Regions from separate parts of the Homo sapiens genome. Here region 1 is linked to region 2. The links are contacts of gene promoters, found by promoter capture Hi-C in blood cells and fetal thymus (Javierre and others, 2016). All regions are on one chromosome and are shown on one strand. Each heading gives the region's core, a stretch centred on a gene start or on the middle of the fragment in contact. The rest is flanking DNA. Distances are from core to core; before and after follow the strand shown. Region 1 has its middle 41 kb from the start of ACSM4. Region 2 holds the start of CD163 (CD163 molecule).

Region 1 (5,104 bases), core at 2,083-4,582, 240 kb before region 2:
CCTGCCCTTGGAAATTTGCAGGGTCAGAATTCAAACCCAGACATTTCACTCAAGTCCCCTAGTCTTTCTTAATGATCACTAGAGAGAGAAATTTAAGGAAAAGAAACATCAATGCCTTCAAACCCAAGAAACCTTCAGAATGATGGTAACCACTGAGAGAAAAGAATAAAATGGACAGGAAAACAGGATAGAGCAAAGGCTGTAGGTACAATAATCGTAATAAAAATGGGTATTTATCTATAGCGTTATCTCTTTTTTCTCCCTATAACAAATAGTTAAACAATATAAACTATGTAAAGGGGCATGAGAAAATAGAAACTGCAAGGCTCGCTTCTAAGGAAATGATTGTTTTGTAAATATATCGTAAGAATTGATCATTAAAACAACATTTTGTAATTATATTAGTTTATGGCAGACAAGAATAATTTATTCAACAAATATTTATTGAGTATCTACTATGTGCCAGATAGTGCTCTAAACCCTGGACATATAATAGTGAATAAATCAGACAAGAGCTCTACTTTTTTGGAGTCTACGTTCTAATGAGAAGACAGGCAGGAAAATAGCAGATTAATCAGCAAATAGCTCAAGTAAAACCAGATGAGGAGTGCTACTTTAGAATGGGTAGTGGAGTGAAATTCTGAAGACATGACATTTGAGTTGAGACCTCATGAACAAGAATCAGTTATATGGAAATCTGAAGCAACACACTTAGGCTGAGGGAACAGTGAATGTCAAGGTTCTGGAGTAGGAGCCACCTTGGCATGTTCAATGAACAGCAAAAAAAAAAGCGTGATGAGCACAGGGAGGACAGTGGCAGGAGATGAGGCTAGAGACATGGGCAAAAACCAGACATGTAGAGCAGCAGTTCTCAGTCCTCGCTGCTCACCAGAATCCCCAGAGGAGCTTTAAAAATATGGATGACTGGGTCCCCACTCCCAGAGAAACTGATTTAATTGGTCTGAGGTGGGGCTCAGGCATAGATCTTTTGAAAAATGCCCTGGGGATTCTGATGGATATCCAAGGTTGAGACTAATATTGAGACTTCTAGCACTTTGGGAGGTCATGGCAGGCACATCACTTGAGGCCAGGAGTTCGAGACCAGTCTGGCCAACATGGTGGAACCCTATCTCTACTAAAAATATAAAAATTAGCCAGGCATGATGGGGCGCACCTGCAATCCCAGCTATTCAGGAGGCTGAGGAATGAAAATTGCTTGAACCGGGGAGGTGGAGGTTGCAGTGAGCTGAGATTCTGCCACTGCACTCCAGCCTGGGCAACAGAGCGAGACTCTGTCTCAAAAAAAAAAAAAAAAAAAAAAAAAAAAGAAATACCTGAAAAAAAAGAAAGAAAAATAAATACCTGAGACTGGGTAACTGGGTACTTTATACAGAAAAGAGGTATATATACACACAAATATACACATATATATATTTCAGAAAATTTTTTAAAAAGAAGAGACTTCCAGATATTCTGTAGTAAAGAGAATATAGGTGAAAGACTGTGTGTGGAAGCAGAGAATTAATGTAAGTTGAACCTGGTAAACAGAAGAATCATTTCAAATAACATTCCCCCACAGAGAAATTTGAGCAATCTTAATTGCCAGACCTCCTGAGAACATAAAAGCTTTACCTGCCAAGAAAACTTGGCTCAAGAAACACCAACTAATAAAATGTAAGACTTTCTATCTTCCAAGCTAACTAACATGTATTGAATTGGTAATATGTACCAGATATTGTATACTAAGCAATTCACTAGATGGTCTAGTATCTTCATAACAATTTCATCTTATCTGTGAGTAAGACCCAATTTAGAGATGACAGTACTCATCTTGGAGAGATTTAGTGTCTTATGTAATGCCACACAACTATTAAGTAGCAGAGGTGCGTCTCTCTGATTCGAAGTCTATGATCATTGCTGCTGTAAGACCTAGTTTGCTGAGGTTACAAAATGGCCAGTCTAATATTTAAACTACTGCTCTCTAGGAAAGTGCTCTTGGGTTCTGTTATGAAAAACTACCACCAGCCGGCCATGGAGGCACATGTCCTTAGTCCCAGACACTCAGGAGGCCGGTGTGAGAGGATCACCTGAGCTCTGGAGGTTGAGGCTGCAGTGAACCACAATGGCACCATTACACTCCAGCCTGGGCAATAGTGTGAAAAACTGTCTCAGAGAAAAAATGATTTCCCAGAGATTGGCAAAGAAAAAAAGGAGGAAAGAAACAAAGTTGAAAGAAAGAAAGAAAGAAAGAGAAAGAAAGAAACTTCCAGAAATAAAATCAATCTAGAACACTGTGGTAAAACAACTGTGGTAGTTATTACCCAGCTATCCACCCCTGTATTAGTCCATTCTCTTATTGTTATAAAGAAATACCTGAAAAAAAAGAAAGAAAAATAAATATCTGAGACTGGGTAACTGGGTAATTTATACAGAAAAGAGGTTTAATTGGCTCATGGTTCTGCAGGCTGTACAGGAAGCATAGCAGCTTCTGCTGCCTGGGGGACCTCAGGAAACTTACAATCATGACAGAAGGCAAAGGGGCAGCCAGCACTTCACATAGCCGGAGCAGGAGGAAGAGAGATGGGAGAAGGTGCTACATACTTTACACACTTTTAAATAACCAGATCTCATGATAACTCACTGGCTATCAGCACCCATGATCCAATCTGCCCCCATGATCCAATCACCTCCCACCAGGCCCCATTTCCAACACTGAGAATTATAATTCAACATGAGATTTGGTGGGGACACAGATCCAAAGCATATCAACCCCCCAGATAGTACTACAATTTCCACTTGGGCCTTGTGACAAGCTCTGGCCAATGAATTATGAGCTGGAATGATGTATACCATGTCTAGGCTGGAGCACATAATTGCTTCCTTTCCCACACTTATGATGGGCGATCCTTCAGATAATGGTTGTTCTATCAGCCAGGTCACAGAAGATCTCTCAGCCAACCCATGCTGAACAAGTAGTGAGAGCAAAAGATTGTGATGTTATAGACCACGGAGATTTGGGGGATTCTTTATTATGTAGCATAGCGTAGTTCATCCTGACTGATACAAACTGCATCCTTCCTCTCTGAGTTTGTCTAGAGATGACAAATTACCAGCTCTACTTATGCATCACACATGCCCAAAAGTGTGTGTGTGTGTTGTGTATGTGCTTTATTTTGTTGCTAATAAATCTATTAAAAGTGGAAAACTCTAAGTCCATCAGCAGAAAACATTCCTGTAGATATTTCTTCAGTACAAAGGATGTCAGTTGTTCAATCTGACAAGGTAATTAATGAATGAGAAACTCCAGAATAGCCACATCCAGACCACAAATACCTCCCTTGGAGAAAGATGCATATGTGGGCCAAGCAAGGGCAAAAGGAAGGTCCCTAAAGAAGAGCCCACACATGTTGATGTTGCTCTGGGAGAAATATATTAATTTATTTAACAAATAAAAAAGCTACTATGTTCCAGGCATTGTCCAAAGTGCAAAAAATAGAATAGTGAACAGAACAGACAAAAATCTCCCTTTTTATAGAGTTTATATTCCAATGGCGTGAGGGAAGATAATGACATGGCTCTAAAAACATTTAATTGTTCCAGTATAGACTTTCCCCATTTCTCATGATCTGTTCATCCAGCTGAATAAATAAGAAATGTGACAAGCCCATCACCCCCCACTTACTGACAGGGTAAAGTCTGAAGCAATATATGGGGTAATCCAACCTACACCATCTGGGGCCCTGAAATGCAGATCATTAATTTGGATTAAACCCTTAAATACTGGTTTCTGATTTCCATTCATAGGAAACAACAGCTCTTTCTTCTTCTGGCTGCACCTGGGGTTCTGCCCACTGGCCTAGAGGAAGAAATGGAATTCATGTTTTGATCACCACATCTGGCATCTGAATCCCTTCATCTTCTTGAAAACCTCTGAAGATCTGAGTACTGTTTAAGAGCAGACTCCCTAAGGCAATTATCCTCTCAGGCCAGAAGTCTCAGGAGGTAGAGGTTGGAGTCTATGGTAGCACCATCTTTGACTCACTGGTCTGTCTGCATAGAAAATACTGCAACTCATGTTTAGCTATTGTCTAATGTATGTGCCATCAGCTCCTAAGGGGACAAAGACAGAGTGACAGCCCCTTCCTGTGACGGTTACTATGGGACTGAACGAAGGAGGACGAATGCAGAAATGAAGACAAAGACAAAAGATCTGTTTTAAAAGAAGGGGTGGGGGGCTCCTTGTTTCTAGTGAGCAAGGGCCCTGAGCTTCTACAGCCCTTTGTATTTATTACGTAGAATCAACAGGGAGGAAAGGTAATGGTTGGTCAGCTGCTTGATTTATCACAGGTTCACCTAATTGCTTTTTTTATACTACAGGCTTCAGATATTCCTATAGATAACCACAAGGAACACTGCGCTTGGGGCGTGACTGCCTCAGCATTCCTTCTGGCAGCAGATGCAGTTTGCCAGTTTGCCAACTCCCGCTTTCATGAGAACAGTTTGCTATTTGCTCATATAGCCTCCAGTGGTATACTGAGTTGGTCATGACCCTCATTCTTTTGGCCTCCAACACTTTCCCATTTCCTTTATTCCAATAACTGTGTGCTGTTATGTATCTGTACCTTGTGTACCTCTAAACTCTTCACTGAGTGTGATACAAAGTACATTAATTAGTAAATATTTGAGTAGTAAATAATCCTGGGTTTCAACCAAATATAGATTGATCCAGACACATAATGTTAAGTCACAAAGGAGGGAGGTCTGTTCAGCTTCCTGTCTTGCCTCACGGCTCCTTTCTGGTACTGTGCACTGTGGGCCAACAATGTTAGTTACTAGTCTAAGACTATACAAGGCCTAATGTGGTTAGTCATTCTTATATTAGTAAAGCTCAACAGCAAATAATGGTTGATTTACTGATTGTCAAATACTATTTCTCACTAAAGGAAACCAGAACTCTTTAGCGAAATGGCTGACTTCAGAACTGTGACAGGAAATGTACAAGATGAACCTGGGACATCTTATTTGTGCCAGAAAATAAGAAAGCTTCCAAAGACAACTGAGTCATGTCAAAAAAGGGACACAGAAACCAGCCTGAAGGGGCTCC
Region 2 (4,790 bases), core at 1,134-3,633:
CTTTCACTTCCACTCTCCCGCTACACTTGTTTTCACCATCCACTAGCCTCAGCTCCTTGTCTGTTCCTCCTGCAACAATGGATTAAGACAGTAATTGGCCAAGGTCGCAAAGAGCAAGTAGAAAATTATTTTTTTACATTACTTATTTATCCTTCAAACTCAGATTTGAGAACCATCCTAGTCCTATCCATGGTAAAACAGAAGAATGTTATTTCACAGTCATTCAAATATAAGTATCAGTATCACTGGTTTCAAATTAAGCAGTGCTATATGACCAGTAAAGGTAAGTAACACAATAGTGTTTAATAGCTTTATTTTATGGCTGGATAGCCTTAATAGTGGCAATTTATATAATTCCTGTGAAGCATTTTCGAGTTAAATAAGATGCTACAAAACGTTATGGGGATGAACTTTTTACATTTCTCCAAAATCCTAAGGTCGATAGAAAGAAGGCTGATAGAGAATTTATGAAGATGAAAAGACTAGTTGTAAGAAATTTAACTCTTATTTCATACGTATATGTAAAATAGCATAAATCTTAAAAACGCTAGACTGAAACTTATCTAAAATTAAGATGGAGATATTTTCTGCTATTTTCTACCATAAAATAAACCTCTTTGTACTCTCTTCCCATCCCCAGATGATAGATGATCTCAGTTGCCTCCTTGGCATTATTTTAGCTTTATGTAGGAATCTGGTCCCACCAACCTGGCATCTCTCAATACATTTTTAGATAAATTTTGGCATTTGAATTTACTAATGTGTTTCCCAAATTCACTTTTGTTTTAATGATTCTGAAGTTTCTCCTCCTTTGTATTCTTTCCTATTTTTCAGTTCAACATTATTTCTAATCTTTAAGTAAAATTCATTTCTCTCCTGTGAGTTTATTTCATTTGGTGAGGAACCATGCTAATATTTTGGTTAGATTTTTATTGTGTGCTTTTAATAATATCTGATCCTTTGAATACATGGAGCATGTCACCTAGTTTTTAGATGCTACTTGGCCTTCAGAAAAATTGTTTGCCTTTTAACTGTTCTTGTCAGAGTGGGCTAAGGCTGTAAGTAAATTTGACAAAGTACTCACCAAGAGAACTGGTGACAAAACAGGCACTGAGAAGTAAGACCACAGTAATGGTGAAGGGACTCAAGTTGACAAAATGTCTTCTGAAGTCTGTGAAAAAGAAAAGAGGGCAAAAGTAGCATCTTCCCAAAAAGAGACTTTGGAGAAGATAGATGGTTTCAGAGGTTAATTAACAAAGAAGCTCAAACCAAGACAGAAAACTCTTCATTCTAAATTGCAAGGCAGGCAGAAAACATTCATACCCAGGCTCATATAGTTTCAGTGAAATGGTTTTGAAAATGTTCATGTTTATAGGCAACCTAGAGGTGACGGATTAGCAGAAGGTTGGTGGTGGAAACGAGAATTGCAAGGTCAACCCTTAAAACCTGGAAAATGGAAACAACATCAATGAAACTTAGTAGTGGACAATTCTCCCAGCAGGCACAGGGAAGGTATCCTGAGATTTCTCTATTCCCTAACCACCTTGATATTCAATTATGGATGCCCCCATCTTTAAGACTACCTAGCCGCACTGATAGAGGATAAGTTCCATGAGTAAACGAATTATATCTATCATGTTCACCATAATTTCACCAGTACCTGGCTTGATGCTTGCCAAATAGTAGCTAGCAGAACAATACCTAAGTGATGATATCCATATCTGAAAAACTCAAATATTAAATCTTGTCATCTCTACCTGTATCCTTATCACATAATACACTCTTTAATGCTGTTATTACTCTCATATCTTCTCGTTACTCTAACCCAACACTAATTTAAAACTAAAAATGCTAAATGATTTTAACATGTCCAAATAAGTCTTAAAATAGATAACTCACTTATCAGAGTAGATAACTTTCTTTATGTAATTAACTCTCTATCAATATTCCTTTCTGCATATTCTATCTTTTCTAACAACTATTTTTTCATACTCAGTACATTTCAGTTAACTTTAGTTCCTGACTTAATTTCACCTCAGCAGTTTTACAAAATTAATGCCGACTCTGATTCCCATATCACATCTTCAATTTTGAATCTATGGCAGATCAAAGGTGCTGCCATATAAGCCTATGTCCTTTTTCCACTCCTTACTCTCCTGATGCCAATCACTTTTAAATCACATCCATTGACTGTCATAATAATTACATACCCCATTAAAGGGGAAATGTAGAATAAATGAGAAGCTTTTACCAGCAGATCCAGAGTCTTCAAGTAGCACCATTCTGAGTTTGCTCATTCCAAAGATTTATAACTTCAATGATTCCTAAATCTTCTTGTATTATTCCCTAGAAATGTTCTTCTAAAGAAAACAACTAAGAATTCTAAAAATCACTTCACTTTCATGAAAATGAAAAGGCTACATATGGAGGCGGAGTCAACTCAAAAAGGGAAGTCATTGAAAGAGCTGAGGTTCCATTTCATACTCATGTTTTCTTCAATATAGCACATGAAACAACCAAAGGAAATTGGGAAACACTTCCCACAGATTTCGAAAAATTAGAGGAAATACTAACTCATATGCTGCTGTTGCTGAATTAAATATTTTACATTTTTGAACTTCATTTTGGACAAATATATAAGACACAAAAAATTACTAATTGTCATGTAGAAAAATTATGTAAAAAACTAAAGCAAAACAGGCAAAACATAATTAAATAACATTTTATCATATGCACTTTTAATTTTATTTCCATAATCAAATGTGTCTAATGAGTAATTTTGTGTAAGTTGTTGAGACACAGCATTTGTCATTTCTTTTCTAATGGGATGAAGTACACCAAGAGAATTAGCCATGACTATTACTGATATTACAAATGGTGAAACAAAAATTAGCAACACATGATTTTAGCTCTATATAACTCAGATTCAAGTAAGAGAAACACATATGATAACAACAATGAACATAAAGCTAAAGTGCAGTGTTAAAAATAATGGACAAAGTAGTCCTATCTATTGAGAGAAAGGAATGAACAGTCAGAAAACTATTTTCTCTGAGGACAGGCTTAAATTGTGTCCTAAAAGATGAGAAAAACATTGCCAAAGGGACAAATGATAAAGGAGTTTAAGGCATAAAAAATAGCACATACAAATGAATATTTGTATATAAAAACATATAAGCTCAAAAGAACTACTAATAGTTCATCATGGCATACATATTGTCAGGTGTTAGTGATGGGCCTGAAATGGGGAATTAAAGAGCAACTCCAGCCTTCCAGAGAGACATTCACTAGAACCCAGTCAACAAAGGCACCCCAGTTTTCTTCCACTTCTCAGGCATGCCAAATCTCTCCCTGCCTCATGGTATGTCATACATATTGTTCCTTCTGTGTTTACTGCCTCCCTACCCGTACCTTTCTCTAAGATAACTCTCACTCACGTATACTTTATTTCTCAGTTAAACCTCCCTTCACTAGGAGAAATAACTCTAACGCTGAAAGACCCCAGAAAATATGCACTCATGATAGCCTGTACTTATGAGGGTTGTCAATTATATATATATTTTTTTCCTTTTTTTAAATTATTATTATACTTTAAGTTTTAGGATACATGTGCACAACATGCAGGTTTGTTACGTATGTATACATGTGCAATGCTGGTGTGCTGCACCCATTAACTCGTCATTTAGCATTAGGTATATCTCCTAATGTTATCCCTCCCCCCTCCCCTGACCCCACAACCGTCCCTGGAGTGGGATGTTCCCCTTCCTGTGTCCATGTGTTCTCATTGTTCAATTCCCACCTATGAGTGAGAACATGTGGTGTTTGGTTTTTTGTCCTTGCGATGGTTTGCTGAGAATGATGGTTTCCAGTTTCATCCATGTCCCTACAAAGGACATGAACTCATCATTTTTTATGGCTGCATAGTATTCCATGGTATATATGTGCCACATTTTCTTAATCCAGTCTATCATTGATGGACATTTGGGTTGGTTCCAAGTCTTTGCTATTGCGAGTAGTGCCGCTATAAACGTACGTGTGCATGTGTCTTTATAGCAGCATGATTTATAATCCTTTGGGTATATACCCAGAAATGGGATGGCTGGGTCAAATGGTATTTCTAGTTCTAGATCCCTGAGGAATTGCCACACTGACTTCCACAATGGTTGAATTAGTTTACAGTCCCACCAACAGTGTAAAAGCATGCCTATTTCTCCACATCCTCTCCAGCACCTATTGTTTCCTGACTTTTTAATGATCACCATTCTAACTGGTGTGAGATGGTATCTCGTTGTGGTTTTGGTTTGCATTTCTCTGATGGCCAGTGATGATGAGCATTTTTTCATGTGTTTTTTGGCTGCATAAATGTCTTCTTTTGAGAAGTATCTGTTCATATCCTTCGCCAATTTTTGATGGGGTTGTTTGTTTTTTTCTTGTAAATTTGTTTGAGGTCATTGTAGATTCTGGATATTAACCCTTTGTCAGATGAGTAGGTTGCGAAAATTTTCTCCCATTTTGTAGATTTCCTGTTCACTCTGATGGTAGTTTCTTTTGCTGTGCAGAAGCTCTTTAGTTTAATTAGATCCCATTTGTCTATTTTGGCTTTTGTTGCCATTGCTTTTGGTGTTTTAGATATGAAGTCCTTGCCCATGCCTATGTCCTGAATGGTATTGCCTAGGTTTTCTTCTAGGGTTTTTATGGTTTTAGGTCTAACATGTAAGTCTTTAATCCATCTTGAATTAATTTTTGTATAAGGTGTAAGGAAGGGATCCAGTTTCAGCTTTCTACATATG

What was found. The method cuts DNA at HindIII sites, captures the fragments that hold promoters and counts their contacts. A CHiCAGO score of 5 or more calls a contact.
Region 1: a fragment that was not itself captured here is called in contact with the fragment with the promoter of CD163 in region 2 in 1 of 17 cell types (total CD4 T cells); the score reaches 5.2 in total CD4 T cells.

The regions. Positions count from the first base shown.
Region 1 is chr12:7,260,975-7,266,078 of GRCh38, forward strand. No RefSeq gene overlaps it. Among named protein-coding and RNA genes, the nearest start is that of ACSM4, 41 kb to the right of the region's middle. The HindIII fragment of the contact is 3,417 bases long and covers 1,625-5,041 here.
Region 2 is chr12:7,501,394-7,506,183 of GRCh38, forward strand. It overlaps CD163 (CD163 molecule), which reads right to left and starts at 2,384. Exons shown (of 17, transcript NM_203416.4): 1 at 2,252-2,384; 2 at 1,085-1,171; 3 at 1-69. The coding sequence starts at 2,297. The HindIII fragment of the contact is 3,696 bases long and covers 2,243-4,790 here.